7 separate regions of the Homo sapiens genome follow, and regions 1, 2, 3, 4, 5 and 7 are each linked to region 6. Evidence: promoter capture Hi-C in 16 types of primary human blood cells and fetal thymus (Javierre and others, 2016). All regions are on one chromosome and are shown on one strand. Each heading gives the region's core, a stretch centred on a gene start or on the middle of the fragment in contact. The rest is flanking DNA. Distances are from core to core; before and after follow the strand shown.

Region 1 (2,700 bases), core at 22-2,521, 920 kb before region 6:
CTCTTGCAGGCTACGCCCAGGAGGAACAGCTGAAAGAAGAGGAGGAAATAAAAGAAGAGGAGGAGGAGGAGGACAGCGGTTCAGTAGCTCAACTGCAGGGTGGCAATGACACAGGGACGGACGAGGAGCTAGAAACGGGCCCAGAGCAAAAAGGCTGCTTCAGCTACCAGAACTCTCCAGGAAGTCATTTGTCCAATCAGGATGCCGAGAACGAGTCTCTGCTGAGTGACGCCAGTGATCAGGTGTCGGACATCAAGAGTGTCTGCGGCAGAGATGCCTCAGACAAGAAAGCACACACTCACGTCAGGCTTCCAAACGAAGCACACAATTGCATGGATAAAATGACCGCTGTCTACGCCAACATCCTGTCGGATTCCTACTGGTCAGGCCTGGGCCTTGGCTTCAAGCTGTCCAATAGTGAGAGGAGGAACTGTGACACCCGAAACGGCAGCAACAAGAGTGATTTTGATTGGCACCAAGACGCTCTGTCCAAAAGCCTGCAGCAGAACTTGCCTTCTCGGTCCGTCTCGAAACCCAGCCTGTTCAGCTCGGTGCAGTTGTACCGACAGAGCAGCAAGATGTGCGGGACTGTGTTCACAGGGGCCAGCAGATTCCGATGCCGACAGTGCAGCGCGGCCTATGACACCCTAGTCGAGCTGACTGTGCACATGAATGAAACGGGCCACTATCAAGATGACAACCGCAAAAAGGACAAGCTCAGACCCACGAGCTATTCAAAGCCCAGGAAAAGGGCTTTCCAGGATATGGACAAAGAGGATGCTCAAAAGGTTCTGAAATGTATGTTTTGTGGCGACTCCTTTGATTCCCTCCAAGATTTGAGCGTCCACATGATTAAAACAAAACATTACCAAAAAGTGCCTTTGAAGGAGCCAGTCCCAACCATTTCCTCGAAAATGGTCACCCCGGCTAAGAAACGCGTTTTTGATGTCAATCGGCCGTGTTCCCCCGATTCAACCACAGGATCTTTTGCAGATTCTTTTTCTTCTCAGAAGAACGCCAACTTGCAGTTGTCCTCCAACAACCGCTATGGCTACCAAAATGGAGCCAGCTACACCTGGCAGTTTGAGGCCTGCAAGTCCCAGATCTTAAAGTGCATGGAGTGTGGGAGCTCCCATGACACCTTGCAGCAGCTCACCACCCACATGATGGTCACAGGTCACTTTCTCAAGGTCACCAGCTCTGCCTCCAAGAAAGGGAAGCAGCTGGTATTAGACCCGTTAGCAGTGGAGAAAATGCAGTCGTTGTCTGAGGCCCCAAACAGTGATTCTCTGGCTCCCAAGCCATCCAGTAACTCAGCATCAGATTGTACAGCCTCTACAACTGAGTTAAAGAAAGAGAGTAAAAAAGAAAGGCCAGAGGAAACCAGCAAGGATGAGAAAGTCGTGAAAAGCGAGGACTATGAAGATCCTCTACAAAAACCTTTAGACCCTACAATCAAATATCAATACCTAAGGGAGGAAGACTTGGAAGATGGCTCAAAGGGTGGAGGGGACATTTTGAAATCTTTGGAAAATACTGTCACCACAGCCATCAACAAAGCCCAAAACGGGGCCCCCAGCTGGAGTGCCTACCCCAGCATCCACGCAGCCTACCAGCTGTCTGAGGGCACCAAGCCGCCTTTGCCTATGGGATCCCAGGTACTGCAGATCCGGCCTAATCTCACCAACAAGCTGAGGCCCATTGCACCAAAGTGGAAAGTGATGCCACTGGTTTCTATGCCCACACACCTGGCCCCTTACACTCAAGTCAAGAAAGAGTCAGAAGACAAAGATGAAGCGGTGAAGGAGTGTGGGAAAGAAAGTCCCCACGAAGAGGCCTCATCTTTCAGCCACAGTGAGGGCGATTCTTTCCGCAAAAGTGAAACACCTCCAGAAGCCAAAAAGACCGAGCTGGGTCCCCTGAAGGAGGAGGAGAAGCTGATGAAAGAGGGCAGCGAGAAGGAGAAACCCCAGCCCCTGGAGCCCACATCTGCTCTGAGCAATGGGTGCGCCCTCGCCAACCACGCCCCGGCCCTGCCATGCATCAACCCACTCAGCGCCCTGCAGTCCGTCCTGAACAATCACTTGGGCAAAGCCACGGAGCCCTTGCGCTCACCTTCCTGCTCCAGCCCAAGTTCAAGCACAATTTCCATGTTCCACAAGTCGAATCTCAATGTCATGGACAAGCCGGTCTTGAGTCCTGCCTCCACAAGGTCAGCCAGCGTGTCCAGGCGCTACCTGTTTGAGAACAGCGATCAGCCCATTGACCTGACCAAGTCCAAAAGCAAGAAAGCCGAGTCCTCGCAAGCACAATCTTGTATGTCCCCACCTCAGAAGCACGCTCTGTCTGACATCGCCGACATGGTCAAAGTCCTCCCCAAAGCCACCACCCCAAAGCCAGCCTCCTCCTCCAGGGTCCCCCCCATGAAGCTGGAAATGGATGTCAGGCGCTTTGAGGATGTCTCCAGTGAAGTCTCAACTTTGCATAAAAGAAAAGGCCGGCAGTCCAACTGGAATCCTCAGCATCTTCTGATTCTACAAGCCCAGTTTGCCTCGAGCCTCTTCCAGACATCAGAGGGCAAATACCTGCTGTCTGATCTGGGCCCACAAGAGCGTATGCAAATCTCTAAGTTTACGGGACTCTCAATGACCACTATCAGTCACTGGCTGGCCAACGTCAAGTACCAGCTTAGGAAAACGG
Region 2 (2,700 bases), core at 55-2,554, 990 kb before region 6:
TGCCTGAAGACTTTTCTACAATACAACTTTCAAAAACCCACTGCAAACGTACTGAATCAGAAACCCTAGGCTTGAAGCTCTGCAAGTCTGTGTCTTTGATAAAATACTGCAAGTAATAGTTTGAGGGTTTGGGGTCAAGCAGTCAGCTCTAGGAAGAAAACTCTATATGTGCTCACATCCATCTCACTTTTTCTGAGTGGTCTCAGGTTGCCATCCTCACCACCTGTATTGTTTTCAGGGCAGCATGTCAAACCGAGGTACCCCCATTATTGAAGAAGGTTTCTTTTCACCTGCCTGCAGGCATTCATCACACCACCTCTCCTCTCTGCCACCCGCCTTTGCTTTGAGTCTTTTATCCCATTTCCAAGTCATTCTCTGTCTGGCATCCACCTAAATACAACCACACGGGGGAGGGAGGCAGCAGCCGTATTAACAATCTCCCCTCATCAATCACTTGGGGGAGAGTTACTTCTTTGCAATCTAAACATGAAAGCTTGTCTCCTCTTGGGGGCAGTGTGTGCGCAGGGACACTAGGGTTTAATATATATATATATATATTTTGGGGCCAGGTCGAAAGAAACCCCTAGGGCATAATCTCCTTAATTACACTTCTGCCATTTTTCATGGAGCCTGGTAGTTCGAGGAGCCCCTTTCTTTGTGTGTATATAGCCAAAATGAGTTTTAAGCTGTGGAGGGAGCAACCTAATCAATTTCCTTGGCCTGGGCCTTTTAGAATCCAATATAGCATAGATACAGGACAGTGATAATGATTTGACACTCGCCGCACGTCTGGGGGCTACACATCGCTGGTGAAAAAATGTCATGCCCAGATGAATACTGTTGGCCTCTGGTTCCAACACAACACCAAGAAAACATTGCAGTATTATGAGAATTCCTGTTCCTTCTGTCGATACGTTCAAGATGGTTCTTACTTCTGAGCAGGTATCGATTGTGTATAGGTTAGGCCCCACCTGTGCCATTTGTCATTTCTGATATAATATCGTGTTATCGTTTAAAGCTGTAATGGGAGAGGTGTCTGTGTTTAAAGCAAACCGGTGTCTCGAGCTTTGATAAATGGCTAGATGGTCTTTGTTTCTGCAGCAGTGAGCAGTTGGCTTGCTATTTGCTTTACCTTTTATCCAAGAATAACTGTGTGAGGAGTTCTGGAAGCGAGCAGTATCATTTTGTCAGATGTGGTCCGTGGCTAGCCGGGTGGTCCCAGCAGAACAGCTGTGGGATTTTAGCACCCGACAGGATGTTAGCAGAGGGCCTGTGTAAATCTGAAACAACTCAAGCTCCACATGGCTGCATTTGGTTGAAAAGTTCTCAGTGCTGTTTTTTTTTAAGGTGAGAGGACAGGAAATGCTGATGGGAAAGAAAAAAAAAAATATGTGCTTGGGATAATAATTTTATTCAGATGGAGCATTTCTGAGAAAAAGTGATCTGAGGGAAAAGGGTGGTGCTATCATGAGGGAAAATGGGAAATCAGTAAAGTGTGGCTGTCTCTAACATATGCATACCTCCCATCTCCAAAAGCGTGGCTCAGGCAGCTCCTGCTACCCTTAAACCACCCGCCTCCTGGTAACATGGCTCACCCTCTCCATATATCATTAGAACCCTCAGAAATGTGGCACGAAGCAAGTCTGGAAGACTTTCTGTTCCTGGAACTGAAGGTATTCGTGGGTTACAATCATGACACTTAATTCATCAGAACAGGCAGTTTGTCAGGACAAATAGCAGTAGTTTTGTGCCCACAGTTCCCTTCTCAAAATTCATGAAAACCAAAATGCTCCCACAATTCCAATGCGACTTTGCATGGCGGCAATGACTATCATTTCTCTCTGCCTTCTTTAAGGGGGAGGGGAGGGCCAGCCATGTATCATTACATAAATGGTACAACATGCCTGTTCCCCCAGCTCTACAGCCGAGGGGACTTTTGGAGAAGCGCCTGACATGAATCTGCTCCTAACTGGGAGTCGATCAAGTTATTTTCAGAAAAGTTCACCAGGTTTTCAATGTTCAGTGTAAAATCTACATTGGACTAGAGATACAAGGCAATGCTAAGCAACCTTGTTTCCTGGAGCCTGCTCTTCACTTTGATTTCTCTAGGACAGAGAAGCTTTTTGGTGATGAGTCCATACTTTCTCAACAGCATCTTTCTAAATTAATGAAATGCACTTGCTAGACAATGGAGAGGGTCTGTAGAATACACAAGGGCTATGAGACAGAATAAATGTCCACAAGCCTTGTTAGGATTTGGTGCTAGTCCATAGAAGAAATAGGTCCAAATAGGTATATAATTAAATATATATGTCTAGCTCCATCTTACACACACATATACATATGAATACATATTAATAAACATTCATACTCTCATAAATTCAGTATACCTATGAACCAGCTGCCTAAGTTATAAGAACGTAAATTGCCTATATATATACGGTTCTTACGTATATAAGAACCTGATTAGCAAGTACTTATATGTATCAATATTTTAAATTATATACCTACTGTATACCAGGCATATATGTACATTAGTGCATTTAATCCTTATAACATGTCTATGAGGAAATATGATTATCCCCATTTTTCAGATGACAGAGATGAGGTTGGAGAGAGCTAACATTCTTTGCTCAAAAGCACACAGCTTAGAAGTAGCAGATTCTTTCCTCATGCCATTTCTAATAGGTCACACAAGGA
Region 3 (2,700 bases), core at 123-2,622, 900 kb before region 6:
ACGGAGCCAGTGGGGAAAAGAGGGGTCAAAGAAGTCTAACCAAATGAGAAGAGATCTAGGCTGAGTCTGGAATGATGAAAAGGAGCTAGCCAGGAGGATAAGAGGGAAAAGTGTTGCGGAAAGAAGGAACGGCAAGAGTAAAGTCTTGTTAAGTGAGAGAGAGGGTGTGGTTCATTCCAGAAAATGCATGTGGCTCAGTATGATTGCAGAGAGCCCAGTTTTGGGGAGCAGATGGCAGAGAGAGGAGGCTGAACAGACAGGTGGCTGGTGGATGTGCATACAATGGCTTCTCCTTGGGTGCACAAACTTTGTCTTTTCATGATCATAGAGACAGATATTCAATTGAGGTTTGCTTTATGAAATATTGGAGCATTGTTTCCATGAAATTGACTTTGCAGGGCTGGGAAGTGAGTGGAGAAGTGGATTTTTTTTTTTCTTTTGTGACGGAGTCTTGTTCTGTTGCCAGGCTGGAGTGCAGTGGTGCGATTTCGGCTCACTGCAACCTCCACCTCCCTGGTTCAAGTGATTCTCCAGCCTCAGCCTCCTGAGTAGCTGGGATTACAGGCACGCACCACCACACCTGGCTAATTTTTGTATATTTAGTAGAGATAAGGTTTCACCATGTTAGTCAGGCTGGTCTTGAACTCTTAACTTCATGGTCTGCCTGCCTCGGCCTCCCAAAGTGCTAGGATTACAGGCATGAACCACCGTGCCCGGCCGAGAAGTGGACTTTTAACTGAGCCTCCAGTTGACATTGGATACAAGGTCGACCTCCACCTCGAAGCTCTGGGAGGGCAGGGGCTGCATCTGACTGGCTTCCTGTTGTATTCCTTGGAACCCAGACTCTACAAATATTGGATAAAAGAAAGGAAGGAAGGAGAAGAGAGAGGGAGAAAGGGACATGCTATCTAGGAAGTGATTATACTTCCTTTTGCCATCCTCCATGGGCGAAATGACAATAATACTTACGTCTCTCATCCGTGAGGCAGATCAAATACATAAAAGTACACAAAACATGAAGCACAGTCCCCAGCATCTAACATAAGCCCAGTGCAAATGAATCTTCAGGCTTTGCACAGCCAGAAAAGTATGAGGATGTAAGAAACATTTCCAGCCTGCCGTAGAAAGGACTAACACTCTGCCAGGATGTTTTTGCATCCGGGGTAAGAAATGTCTATGCTAACTCTTGGAGGAACTGCTGTGTGCCAGGCTCTGTTCTGAGTCCTGGGCTACACCAGAGAATAAGAGAAACAGGGGATGCAGGTTGATAATAATACTAAGGGCTAACATCTATTGAGCACATAAATACAAGTAACAATTTCTGAGAATGAGGGGCTACCAAGGAAATATGGGGTAGTGCAAGGGACTGTGACAGGGCCACCTACTTTAAATAGAGGAGATTGAAAAGACAGGAGTCAGGTGGCAACTTGGAAGCAGAACATCCCAGGCAGGAGAAACAGGAGCAGGGCTGATATGTTTGATTCAGAGAAAGGCCGGAGTGTCATGAGCTGGGCATCCAGTGGTGGGACATGAATTGTGGGATGAGCATGGGACAACTCAGGGCTTTGTAGAACATGCTAAGAACTTTGGATTTTTTGAGACCATGCTAACTGGGTGGGGAAATAAAAGAACGTTGGATTTGTTTTTCATTAGGTCCACTGGGAAGCCATTGAAGCAGCTTGAACAGGCATGTGGCATGATCTACTTTCTTTCTTTTTTTGAGACAGAGTTTCACTCTTCTTGCCCAGGCTGGAGTGCAATGGTGCGATCTTGGCTCACTGCAACCTCTGCCTCCTGGGTTCAAGTGATTCTCCTTCCTCAGCGTCCTGAGTAACTGGAATTACAGGCATGTGCCACCACGCCTAATTTTGTATTTTTAGTGGAGACAGGGTTTCACTATGTTGGCCAGACTGCTCTCGAACTCCTGACCTCAGGTGATCCACCTGCCTCGACTTTCCAAAGTGCTGGGATTATAGGAATGAGCCACCACGCCCAGCCTACTTTCATTTTTATAAGATCACTCTGGCTACTGGGTGTGGAATGGACAAGAGGGTCAGGAGTGAAAGCAGGAGGCCAGCAAGGAGGCTGTTGGGAGACCGGGAACAGATGGCCTTGGTTGGAGCCTCAGTGGAGGCGGTGAGCATGGGAAGGAATGCGTGGACCTGGGAGAATTCTGGATCACTCAGGACCATGCTTGCCTAGGGAGGAGAAGGGACTTCAAACAAAGAAGACACGTGTTCATGGGGACAGATTCTCTCAGCTTCACACTGTGGGGCCCCGGGTGGGCTCTAGAGGACCAGGATACAACTGCTCTTCCCGAATCTCCCCTGGACCACCCGGACTCCCAAGCATGCCATCACTGCCCATCTCCCAAGAGGAATCCATTCCGATAAAAGTAAACCACTAGTGGCCGGGCGCAGTGACTCACACCTGTAATCCCAGCACTTTGGGAGGCCAAGGCGGGCAGATCACAAGGTCAGGAGATCGAGACCATCCTGGTGAGACCTCATATCTACTAAAAATACAAAAATTAGCTGGGTGTGGTGGCGCGTGCCTGTAATCCCAGCTACTCAGGAAGCTGAGGCAGGAGAATTGCTTGAACCTGGGAGACGGAGATTGCAGTGAGCCGAGATCGCACCGCTGCGCTCCAGCCTGGCGACAGAGTGAGACTCCATCTCAAAATAAATAAATAAATAAGTA
Region 4 (2,700 bases), core at 43-2,542, 830 kb before region 6:
AATGCCTGGTGGGGGGAAGAGCAGCCAATGCAGGAATGCTAGGATAAAACAAGGTGACTTTTCTTTCTTTTTTCTTTTTTTTTTTTTTTTGAGATGGAGTCTCGCTCTGTCACCCAGGCTGGAGTGCAGTGGCACAATCTCGGCTCACTGCAAACTCCGCCTCCCAAGTTCACGTCATTCTCCTGCCTCAGCCTCCGAGTAGCTGGGACTACAGGCGCCCGCCACCATGCCCAGCTAATTTTTTGTATATTTTTTAGTAGAGACGGGGTTTCACCGTGTTAGTCAGGATGGTCTCTAACTCCTGACCTCGTGATCCGCCTGCCTTGGCCTCCCAAAGTGCTGGGATTACAGGCGTGAGCCACTGCACCTGGCTGCTAAAACAAGGTGATTTTTCAAAAAATTATTGCACAATGTGCAATGAGCCCTATATCATCATCCTTTCAAAATATTCTACACAGGTTATTTCCAAAGACAAAGAAACTCAGTGGGGATTGCATGGGAGAAACTGTGTTGCGCACTCCTATGAAGGATCCCCATGTAGCCTTCACAGTTTCACTTAGATTCTGTCTCTTCCAGGACGTCCTCTCTTATTTCACCTAACTTGGGCTAGTTCGTCCTTCTGAAGCTCCTGTAATGTAACAGCTGTGCCTCTAGCCCTCTCTTTCTCTCTTCTTTGTCTTGTAGACATGAGAGACAGCAGTGAGTAATGGGACAATCACCAAGCATGGGAGAGGGACAAAGGTGGGGTAGGCCCTGCATCTGTGTTCGCTTGGACAAGCTGCCTGAGTTCTCCAGACATCAACTCCTCAATCTGAAAAAAATTGAGCGCAATTATTCCTACCTGCTGGCTTGTTGGTGGCTGTGCTTGCCATTGTCATTTTAATTTTTGTTATTACTGTTGTATAAGTTTTAGGTCTGCTATTAGATTTAGGATCCTTCAGGCCAAGACTTTATTGACCTTTGTGTTCCTAGCCCCCTTCTATGCCAGCATAGAGGACAGTCCCTGGCACATAGTAGATGCTCAATAGTATTTGTCGGGGCAGTGAGTAAATTCCCTGCCTCAGTTTGCTTGTCCTTGAGGAGGTAGATACAAAATCAGAACTCACAGCTTCCCTTATCCACCTCCGATCGCCAGCCTTCCAGAGCATTTGCTGAGCTCACCACCAGGGAACGAATACAACAACATTGATTGCGATGCTGAGTTGTGCCAGACTCTGTGCTAAGGTTGGAGTGACCAATAATCCCAGTTTGCCTGAGACTGAGGGATTTCCTGGGACATAAAATTGTCAGTCCTAAAACTGGGATAATCACAGAAGGAGGAACAGGTTGGCCACCCTTGCTAAGGCTTTTCATGCATTATCTCTTTCTGTCTTTTTTCTTTATTTTTTTTTTTAATAGAGATGGGGTCCTTACTATGTTGACCAGGCTAGTCTCGAACTGCTGACCTCAAGCAATCCTCCCATCTCAGCCTCCCAAAGTGCTGGAATTACAGGCTTAAACCGCCATACCCGGCCGAATTATCTCTTATCTATTTTAAATATGCTTCATTTCTTAGAACAGTTTTTTATTTATGTATGTATAGATATATTTGCTTTGTGGGGCAGGGGGGTGCGGGCTGGGGGGACAGAGCTGCTCTGTTGCCCAGGCTGGAGTGCAATGATGTGACCTCAACTCACTGCAACCTCCACCTCCCGGGTTCAAGCGATTCTCCTGTCTCAGCCTCCCAAGTAGCTGGGATTACAGGCGTGTGCCACCACACCCAGCTAATTTTTGTATTTTTAGTAGAGAAGGGGCTTCACCACGTTGACCAGACTGGTCTCGAACTCCTGAGCTCAGTTGATCCACCCACCTCGGCCTCCTAAAGTTCTGGGATTATAGGCGTGAGCAATCATGCCCAGCCAGAACAATTTTAAATATACAGAAAAATTGAGATGCTTGTCCAAAGAGCCCCCACATGCCCCACACCCAGTTTCCCCTATTTGTAACACCTTACGTTAGTACCGTAAATTTGTCACAACAAATGAACCAGCACGGATACGTTATTATGAACCAAAATCCATACTCTATTCAGATTTCCTTAGTGTTTCCCTGCGTCATTTTCCTGCTCCAGGCTCACACTCGGAATACCACAACACATCTACTTTCCATGTCTCCTTGGGCTCTTGTTGGCAGTAATATCTTCTCAGGCTTTTTTTTTTTTTTTTTTTTAATGATGACCTTGACTGTTTTAAGGCGTACTGGTCAGGTATACTGTAGTATCTCATTTAATCCTCATATAAACCTTAAAGAATGAACACTATTGTTCCATTTTACCAATGGGGTTGCTGACGCTTACGTCCGGTATAACCAGTAAAGGGTTGAATGGTAATTTGAGTTTCCACTGGGGGCAATGATTCCTTAATAACATCAATTCATAGTAAGTATTATCTTCAGTGCTTGTTCTGTCTCAAGTACCCTGCAAAGAAGCCCGTCCCTATTGTATTCTTTCATCCTCATAAGCACAGCACTGTAGACACTCACGTATGCCCATTTTACAGATAAGGAAACCAAGGCCAAGAAAGGTTAAGTCTCTGGCTCAAGTCATGAAACTGATGGAAGAATGTAGACCCCAATCCAGGGCCTCTGCAATCTTTATGCTCTGTCTTTCTAGGAAATACTTTCTCCCTATTAAAGATTGACCCGTTTGGAGGAATATTTTCT
Region 5 (2,700 bases), core at 187-2,686, 960 kb before region 6:
TATAAAAAATAGCCAGGCATGGTGGCACGTGCCTTTAATCTCAGCTACCTGGGAGGATTAGGCAAGAGAATTGCTTGAACCCGGGAGGTGGAGGCCGAGGTGACCAGAGATCATGCCACTGCATTGCACTCCAACCTGGGTGACAGAGCAAGACTGTCTCAAAATGAAAAGAAGAAGAAGACAATGTGAGCAGAGAAAGGAATGAAGCAGAAGGAAGGGAGGGTGTGTAGAGTGTCCAGTGCCTGCCTGTGCTTAGTAAGCACTCAATCAATAAACACTATTATTATTATAATTAATCTAAGAAGGAGCCCGTAAACCTGAGAGGAGAGTGTCATTGCAATGAGCTTGATTGAAGCAAGATTTGTGAAGGATGTGGCATTTAAAAGGTTGAGATAAGAGTTCATGGGGAGATGAGGGAAGGGCCATCTGAGGGAAAAGGAAGGATAAAAAATCCAATGGACACTGAGATCGGGCACACCAGTGGGCGGGACCCATAGGCTAATGTCCTCCTGCAGAAATGCAGTTTGGGTTTGTTTTTGCAGGGAGGTTGTTTGTTTGAGTTTTTTTTAAAGATTATCTCATCAAAACCTGAATTTCAGGCTACTGTGAGAAAAAGTAGAAAATCTAACAGCACTGAGCCCACTTTTCCACGTGGCAAACACTGGTCTAAGTCCTTACAGCCCTGCCACATCATCCCAAGATCACAACACCACTTCCCGGGATTCCAGTATATTGCGGTGGTTTTTAAGAGCAAAATAGCAGCATTTTGAGAGCTGCCTGTCATATGAAAAGCGTTCTCACCACACCCTTCCACTGTCTAACCATGCCACAGTATCTTGTTTCTCTTTTGGTTCTCATTTCCTGGTATATGGGAGAGGTTGAGTGGCTTTTGCCAGACATTTGCTTTCTTTCCAGAGCTCCTTCAGCTATGGTCTACAGTCAGAGTTCCATCATGGAGGCATCCTAGATTTTTTTTTTGCCTTTGGGAGGGGAGAAGTGAGGAAGAGACTATATTAAAAATGTAAGAAAGGCTGGGCACGGTGGCTCACACATGTAATCCCACCACTTTGAGAGGCCAAGGCAGGTGGATCACCTGAGGTCGGGAGTTCGAGACCAGCCTGACCAACATGGAGAGAAACCCCATCTCTACTAAAAATACAAAATTAGCCGGGCATGGTGGCACATGCCTGTAATTCCAGCTACTCAGGAGGCTGAGGCAGGAGCATAGCTTGAACTCAGGAAGCGGAGGTTGTGGTGAGCCGAGGTCGCGCCATTGCACTCCAGCCTGGGCAACAGGAGCAAAACTCCGTCTCAAAAAAAAAAAAAAAAAATTTAAAAAATGGTTTCATAGGGATGGGAAAAGAGGGGTCCCAGGCCTAATTCCCAGTCTTTCTCCTAGGGTTGAGCTCCTGCCCTTTTTCCCCTAAGGCCAAACACCTGTCTCTGATGTCTGATTCCTCTTCTCCCAGAATTCTTCATTTTGGCCAAGACCTTCTTCCCCAGTCAAATTCCCAGAGACTCATATCTGGAGGACAGAAAGGCACGACCTTAGCTCTTCCTCAGAATGAGGAATAGAAAACAGTGGGGGGCCAGCTCACTTTTTAATAAGACACTAGTATTTCAGCATTCTATGAAGTCAACACCCAAGGAATGTCCCTGTCATCTGTTCTCACCTTGCAATTGCTGGTCCTGTTGTCTTCCCCAGCCCTCTCCACACCTCACTTCACCAGCCAAGCCATTGTTGGCTCCTAAGCATTTCAGTTCCTGATGGAGGAGTAAGACAGGTAGTCAGGTAAAGCTGGAGTGAGGACAAATGGGACTGGGGTGGCGGAATCCCTGGCAGAAAGTCAAGGACGTGAACATACAAGGAAAAATAGGCCACAGCCAGAGCACTGAAGGCCACAAATGTGAACCCCTAGCTAGGATATGTCATTTTATGCCAGGCAAAATCAGGACAACAAAGGGTTCTCAAGCATAGGTGCGACCCAACCAACCCTTCACCAGCCAGGAACATTTTCTGGTGTTAATGCCATCTTAGAAAATGCTGTGAAAAGCTCCTTGCACTGAGCTAGTTTCTCATCCCCTGATGTTTACACCTCTCAAAGGTGCATGGAGCCCCACAATGTGTCACTCTCTGATTTGTCACCTGGAGAACACAGCGCAGACATGTTTGGCTGCTTTAATATTTCTCTATAAATCAATCCTCTTTCCCCTTAATCATGTGGGTTGTTCTTCTCTGAACTTGCTCCAATTTGTCTACATCTTGCTGGGACTGAGTTGTCTAAAAGTGAACACACCCTTCAAATGCGGGAACTCTCCCTGCAGCCCCTGGCAGCTCCTGGCGACTCACTTCACCGCCCGGAGAATTCCGTGCAGGGCTCCAGCGGTGAGCAGAGTTGGAAACGGCCCATCCCCAGTTTCCAAAGAGGCCGTGTCTTTCTGTTCCTGAGCGGGCCCGTTTGTTATTTTTAGTGTCTGATTGTCAGGCTGCGGCATTAGAAAGTCTGTGGTCGCATTACATATTCCAGAAAGTCACATTGCTGGTGATGTGCGGCTGTATCGATGGATGAGTAATTGCTCGCTGTCAGGCCCACCCGGTGAAGCTGTGTCCTCCCAAGTTGTGAAAGGGGGATAGTGCGAGAGCCGCACCTGCCGCGGCCCCACCTGTCTGCGCTTGGCCGATGCCAGCACCTGCAGCCT
Region 6 (2,700 bases), core at 77-2,576:
AGGGTGTGGCCCTGCCCTGTTGCCAGAGAGAACGCAGGTGCTGGGTGCACAGCACGGCTTTTCCGTGGACCGACTCTAATCTGTACAAGAGCTCAGGGTTGCGATGGCACGGGAGAGGGGCTTTGGTATCCGCCCTACGTAAGAAGCTTCCAACCCCAGGGAACTCTAACTCCGCCTCTTCACAATTTCCAGGCGCCGTCAGGCTCATCAGGTCTGGCCGCATGCCCAGGTCCCTCGGATTGGACTCACAGGATCAGCAGCCCGTAGCCTTCTTTGCGGTAGTCGCGATAGGCCTTCCACGGTTTGATCTCCAGCCGCTGCGGGTACGCGCTCTCGGTGCGGTACAGCGCTTCCAGCAGGCATGGCGAGCCCAGGTGCACCGACTCAAAGGAACCCAACTTCATGCGGAAAATCTTGCCATACTTCTTGTGGTACTCCACCTGCAGCCGGCCGGGCACAGCGCGGTGTCAGCGCGCATCCTCCGCCGTGCCCGAAGCGCTTTCCCTCCTCCCGCCTCCTTCCTCCTAGGGGACCGGGGACCCTCCCTGCCCAGACGCCGAAGCGCACCATGCGCCCGAGGCGCGCATGTCGGGGAGGGTTTGGAGCGCCACTGGGAGGGCGGAAGAGGGAGGAGAGAGTCAGGGGCGCGAAAAGGGGTTTACCAGGGTGTCGTGCTGTTTCTTGAGACCCCCTTTCCAGAGAATCTGCAGCAGGCTGCCCAGCAGTGGCCAGCTGGTGGGGCCCGGCAGGGCGGCCGCGTTCTGAGTCTCGCCACCAGCTGTCAGCGGGCAGACTGGCACCTCTCGCGGCTGAGGGGACGTGTACGCCGTAGATGTCACCAGTCTCGGGGGCTGCCTCGGACTGCGCAGCTGCTGCAGGAAGGCGGCAAGCGAGCGGCTCTTGCTGATGGGGGAGCTCATGGCAGCGGGGGACACCGGAGCGCGGGAAGGCAGGAGGATGGGGTGGGGCGAGGTTGGTACGAGGTGCTAGTGGGAGTCGGGGCTTAACGATTCTGGGAAAAGGAAGCAAAGAGGGCCAGCTGGTGTGATGGAGCGGGGTGAGGCGGGACAGGCAGCAGAAAGGACCTCGGCGAGGATGCTCGACGCTGCACCACGCGACAGCCTCAGAGCATTGGTGCCTCCTTGCACTGGCCGCAGGGGCTGGAAGAGGGTGGCCGGTGTCTGGGGACCTCTTGAAAAGGGAAAGCTGGGAGTCCTCCTGTTGGTCCGCAAGGCTGACCTCTAGGGTCTGGCTGGAGCCACGGGGAGGTGTCAAGGAGGGTAGATGAGATGCTGCTGGCGCTGCGTTTCCTCCTGTCCCTCTCCATGTTCCTATGCCCAGGGACCATGCATTTATGGAGACAGAGCATGCCCTGGGTGGCCAATGAGCACGCAGAGGAGGGCGGAGTGGCCCCCGGCTGGCCAGACTCCGAGGGACGCGGGACCCAGGGGAGGGGGGGTGGAAGGAGGATGGAGTCAGCGAGGTGAGCGAGGGCGTCCGGGCCTGGGGTGACCGGGGCTATGTTCGCTGGGCGCGGGAGGTGGGGTGGGGGCGGCAGACTCCACCCCGGAGATAACCCCCAGGAAGTCATGCGAAGCCCGGAGTTCACCGGGTGTGCTTCGAACGCGCCTCCCCGCCCTCCCCCGGCGGGCAGGAGCCGGCAGCGGCGGCCGTGGTTGCCGCCCGGCGCTTGCACAATCGCGATGCCGGGCGGGCGAGGTCCCCGAGTGCGGGCCCAGAAAAGCTGCCGGCGTCTGCCAGGGCCCCGGGGAGCCCGGGCGCCTCCCGGGGAGCCAGATACCCCCAGCCTGGACTGAAGTGATTTTTTTTTTTTTTTTGCCTTTTTTTTTTTGGAGGAAGTTTGGCTTTCTGCGCCTCCCAGGGTGGGGAGGATTTGAGTCTTACTGAAATGCACCAGAAGAGGAGACTTTCTTAACTTGAGCAAGAAGGGGAGTTTGTAGAATTTCCTTCCTGCTGTTTCATGTTTGGTTGTTTTGCAGATTAAATGAATTAATGCACGTAAAGCGGCAACAACGAAGCCTTGTCTATAGTCAACAGTCAATAAAAGTTAGTTGCTGTTGTTACTTCTTTAGGAAGTTAGGAAATGCGCCTTGAGAGCGTGGCTTGCACCAACGATGCTTGAATTCAGGCTGGGCCACCTCCCCTATGTCCACTGCCCGCCTCTGTTCTTCTACACCGACTACCTTGTGCAAAGGAGGGGCACACAGAGCTTGAAACCACCGCCCCCAGTACTCCCCCTCTCCCCCAAGGTGCGTCCTAGGCAGGTCCAGTGACAAACATACACAATTTCTAGAGTTACCGCGGCTGGCAAGAGTAGAACTCGCTTTGCTAATTCAGGAACGGAAGTTGGAGATTTTTGTTGATTGTTTTAAAGTGGCTCGAATCCTTTCAACCTGATCCAATACAAAACTACCACCAGCCAGGGAGGAGGGGAGGGACATTCTGTTTCCTCGCCCTGCTTTTCAATTACGTGTCTCAGTCATTTTTGCCCCAAGTGTTGGCAAATCCTTCCCTGGTAAATTCTTTTGTAAGCCTCTAGTTTGTTTCTTAAAAATCTTTTGCAGTCCAACTTAAGCTTTAACACCATCATTTCTGATTTGTCTGGAGGGGCTAATGACTGTTTATGTTAATAAAAATAATAGCTATTGATATATACTAAACTTTATGAATCTTGTACAT
Region 7 (2,700 bases), core at 81-2,580, 810 kb before region 6:
CTGAGACCAGGCAGAAAAAAAAAAAAAGTTTCTGTGGTTCTTTTTTTTTTTTTTTTTTTTTTTTTTTCCCAAACAGAGTCTCATTCTGTCACCCAGGCTGGAGTGCAGTGGCAGGATCTCGACTCACGGCAACTTCCGCCACTCAGGTTCAAGCAGTTCTCGTGCCTCAGCCTCCCCAGTACCTGGGACTACAGGCGTGCACCACCATGCCTGGCTACTTTTTTTTGTTTTTTTTAGTAGAGATGGGGTTTCACCATGTTGGCCAGGCTGGTCTCGATCTCCTGGCCTCAGTTGATCAACCCACCCCGGCCTCCCAAAGTGCTGGGATTACAGGCGTGAGCCACTGCACCCAGCCGTTCTTCATCTTTTTGAAAAAAAATTTACTTCCAATTATTTGATGGTAAAATCCACCAATTTATGCATAAAATAAAATGGCAAGTTAGATTTATTTGGAGAAATAAATTGTAGAAACCATTCATCCGTTAGGGTTTTTTAAACGGTCTTGTGCCACTTGATGAAGCAAAAATAAAACTTCACTCAGCTGACAGATAATCTAGGTGACAAAATCTTTTGTCTCTCCCTTATGAAGTGACCGCTTTGAATATTTTTCTTATTTTAAAAACCAAAAATCCTTTGAATGCTATTTATTATTTTAGGAATCAAAAACCAAATGTCTATTGTGAACACAAGTCTAAGAAAGAGTAATATGAACCAGTCTTTTTCAAGATGGCCTGCTTTTTCTGCTTGAAAACATTCCCATGTTAACGTTTTTCTTCCTGGTTGCTCTGTTAGCCTTAATCTGTAAGTACTATTTTTTTGGAGGGCCTACTCTAATCCAGTTGTTTTATAGACATTATTTCATCATTCGATCCTACCAACAACTTTATGAATTAGGAGTTACAAATTTGCTTTTGTAGATAAAGAAGCTCAACATCACAGACCTTCATTCATAAAAAGGGTGAAAACTGTCTAGGGTCAGGCAGACTGGGGCCAAACCTGTTCTGGCTCTTTCTTGCTGTGTGATCTTAGCCAAGTTATTTAACCTCTCTGTGCCTCAATTTCTTATCTGTAAAATGAAAGAGAGTAATACATGCCTACAATTCCTTAGCCGTGATTCTCAAATCAAAAAATCTCTGAAAATTAAAGTGTTTTCATAAATAGGACAGCAGGGAACATACTTAAACAAAAATATTACACGTTGTTTATCTGAAACTCACATTTAACTGGGTTTGCTGTATTTTCATTTGCTAAATCTGGCAACACTAGTTTGGCGCCAACATTCATTTGGCATAAAGATTAAACTGTGCTGGCAAGAGGCTATTACAATCTTTATTTGTCCCACGTGGTGAAGATCTGAGCAGCGGGGCCAGCAAATACAACAGCTCTGAGCCATGTGGTTGGTATGTTCGAGGACAGAGAGAAGGCCACTGTGGCTGGAACAGAAAGATGGCTAGACAAAAGAGGGAAAGGAGATCAAGTCAGAAAGGCAGGCAGGAGTCAGACCGTGGAGGGCTTCGAGCCAGGCTAAAGATGGTGAGAGGTAAGCCCAAGATCACACCGATGGTGAGCAACAAAACCAGGATTCAACCCTAAGTCAGTCTTATTAGTGCATTGGTCAGTCTGTCAACAAACATCGTGGGGGAAAGTCATCCTTAAGACATCGTTATAAAGATGTCTTCAGGCTCTGGAACTAATTGAAAGATTATCAACTTGGCAGCCAATCAGCTCCTACATTGACTTTAGTACTAGAAAGAGGTACAACTGAAATGGACTTTTCAGTCCAAGGTGATAACATTGATGCCCATTTCATAGCCCTTGCTGAGTTTCTGTGCAATAGGAAAGCATCTTAATGAAAAAATCAAGATTTCCAAGTGAAGGGGGAAATGATACACTTTGTAAATGTAGTATAAATAAATCTAACATATAAGACAGTGTAATAATGATAATTCAGTATAAGACAGCATATGTCATTTTGTCACCTACCTTGCACACTTATGGTTACACATATCACCTCCTTTTATGTCCTAAGGTGTAATTTACACAGTACTAGAATTGGTGGAACGTGCTCATCTGGTCAGCCTACTTTAAGTACTCTGCCCGTGACTTTTACTTTTGTTAACCGAAGTCAATAAATATTTCGAGCTTCTACTCCATATGAAGCACAGTGCTGGGCATAAGAGACATAGAAGCAGACAAGGTCTACTCTTGAATTCACCAAGTTTGTAGTGACTATATATTTTTTTGTTTCTAGAATGCACAACGAGTGATATTTCATGGTTCCAAGATGGTGTGATTTTTGTCAGGGTTTTAATAATAACATCACAGTTAGACAGTCTTACAATGTGCTAGGCACTGTGCTAAGCGTTTATGGGGATTATCTTACCTAATTCTTAGAAAGCCCAAAAATGTAGCATTATCCCCATTTTTCAGATGGGGAAACCAGAGATTAAGTATCTTATACAAGGTACAGAGCTTGTAAACAATAGACCTGGAGTATCAAACCCAGGCAGTTTGACTTCAAAGTCAGTTCTTTTAATATAAAGTTGTGCTATGACAAACCTTATATTAAAAACTTTTGTGTTCAGGATAATGCCAGAAGCCAAGCTCTCTTCTATTTTAGCTAAGATGAGATGGTTTCTCGCACAGCAGGACTTCCTCAAGCCTCTTCTTTTTCTCCCTCTGGGGGGCTAGTTCGGGCTT

Evidence for each region. The method cuts DNA at HindIII sites, captures the fragments that hold promoters and counts their contacts. A CHiCAGO score of 5 or more calls a contact.
Region 1: a contact is called between a fragment that was not itself captured here and the fragment with the promoter of CYP24A1 in region 6, in 1 of 17 cell types (neutrophils). The highest score is 5.5, in neutrophils.
Region 2: a contact is called between a fragment that was not itself captured here and the fragment with the promoter of CYP24A1 in region 6, in 1 of 17 cell types (neutrophils). The highest score is 5.0, in neutrophils.
Region 3: a contact is called between a fragment that was not itself captured here and the fragment with the promoter of CYP24A1 in region 6, in 2 of 17 cell types (neutrophils and non-activated CD4 T cells). The highest score is 7.1, in neutrophils.
Region 4: a fragment that was not itself captured here is called in contact with the fragment with the promoter of CYP24A1 in region 6 in 1 of 17 cell types (neutrophils); the score reaches 6.7 in neutrophils.
Region 5: a fragment that was not itself captured here is called in contact with the fragment with the promoter of CYP24A1 in region 6 in 1 of 17 cell types (neutrophils); the score reaches 5.0 in neutrophils.
Region 7: a contact is called between a fragment that was not itself captured here and the fragment with the promoter of CYP24A1 in region 6, in 1 of 17 cell types (neutrophils). The highest score is 6.2, in neutrophils.

What each region holds. Positions count from the first base shown.
Region 1 is chr20:53,253,490-53,256,189 of GRCh38, forward strand. TSHZ2 (teashirt zinc finger homeobox 2) reads left to right here. Exons shown (of 3, transcript NM_173485.6): 2 at 10-2,700. Among named protein-coding and RNA genes, the nearest start is that of TSHZ2-AS1, 250 kb to the right of the region's middle. The HindIII fragment of the contact is 4,977 bases long and covers 1-2,700 here.
Region 2 is chr20:53,186,362-53,189,061 of GRCh38, forward strand. The region is part of intron 1 of TSHZ2 (teashirt zinc finger homeobox 2); the gene reads left to right. Among named protein-coding and RNA genes, the nearest start is that of TSHZ2, 220 kb to the left of the region's middle. The HindIII fragment of the contact is 1,626 bases long and covers 492-2,117 here.
Region 3 is chr20:53,271,591-53,274,290 of GRCh38, forward strand. All of the region lies in intron 2 of TSHZ2 (teashirt zinc finger homeobox 2), which reads left to right. Among named protein-coding and RNA genes, the nearest start is that of TSHZ2-AS1, 230 kb to the right of the region's middle. The HindIII fragment of the contact is 4,570 bases long and covers 1-2,700 here.
Region 4 is chr20:53,340,111-53,342,810 of GRCh38, forward strand. The region is part of intron 2 of TSHZ2 (teashirt zinc finger homeobox 2); the gene reads left to right. Among named protein-coding and RNA genes, the nearest start is that of TSHZ2-AS1, 160 kb to the right of the region's middle. The HindIII fragment of the contact is 4,559 bases long and covers 1-2,700 here.
Region 5 is chr20:53,214,556-53,217,255 of GRCh38, forward strand. The region is part of intron 1 of TSHZ2 (teashirt zinc finger homeobox 2); the gene reads left to right. Among named protein-coding and RNA genes, the nearest start is that of TSHZ2, 240 kb to the left of the region's middle. The HindIII fragment of the contact is 6,183 bases long and covers 1-2,700 here.
Region 6 is chr20:54,172,660-54,175,359 of GRCh38, forward strand. It overlaps CYP24A1 (cytochrome P450 family 24 subfamily A member 1), which reads right to left and starts at 1,327. Exons shown (of 12, transcript NM_000782.5): 1 at 663-1,327; 2 at 250-440. The coding sequence starts at 920. RefSeq lists an enhancer at 957-1,550. The HindIII fragment of the contact is 2,450 bases long and covers 145-2,594 here.
Region 7 is chr20:53,358,290-53,360,989 of GRCh38, forward strand. The region is part of intron 2 of TSHZ2 (teashirt zinc finger homeobox 2); the gene reads left to right. Among named protein-coding and RNA genes, the nearest start is that of TSHZ2-AS1, 140 kb to the right of the region's middle. The HindIII fragment of the contact is 3,082 bases long and covers 1-2,700 here.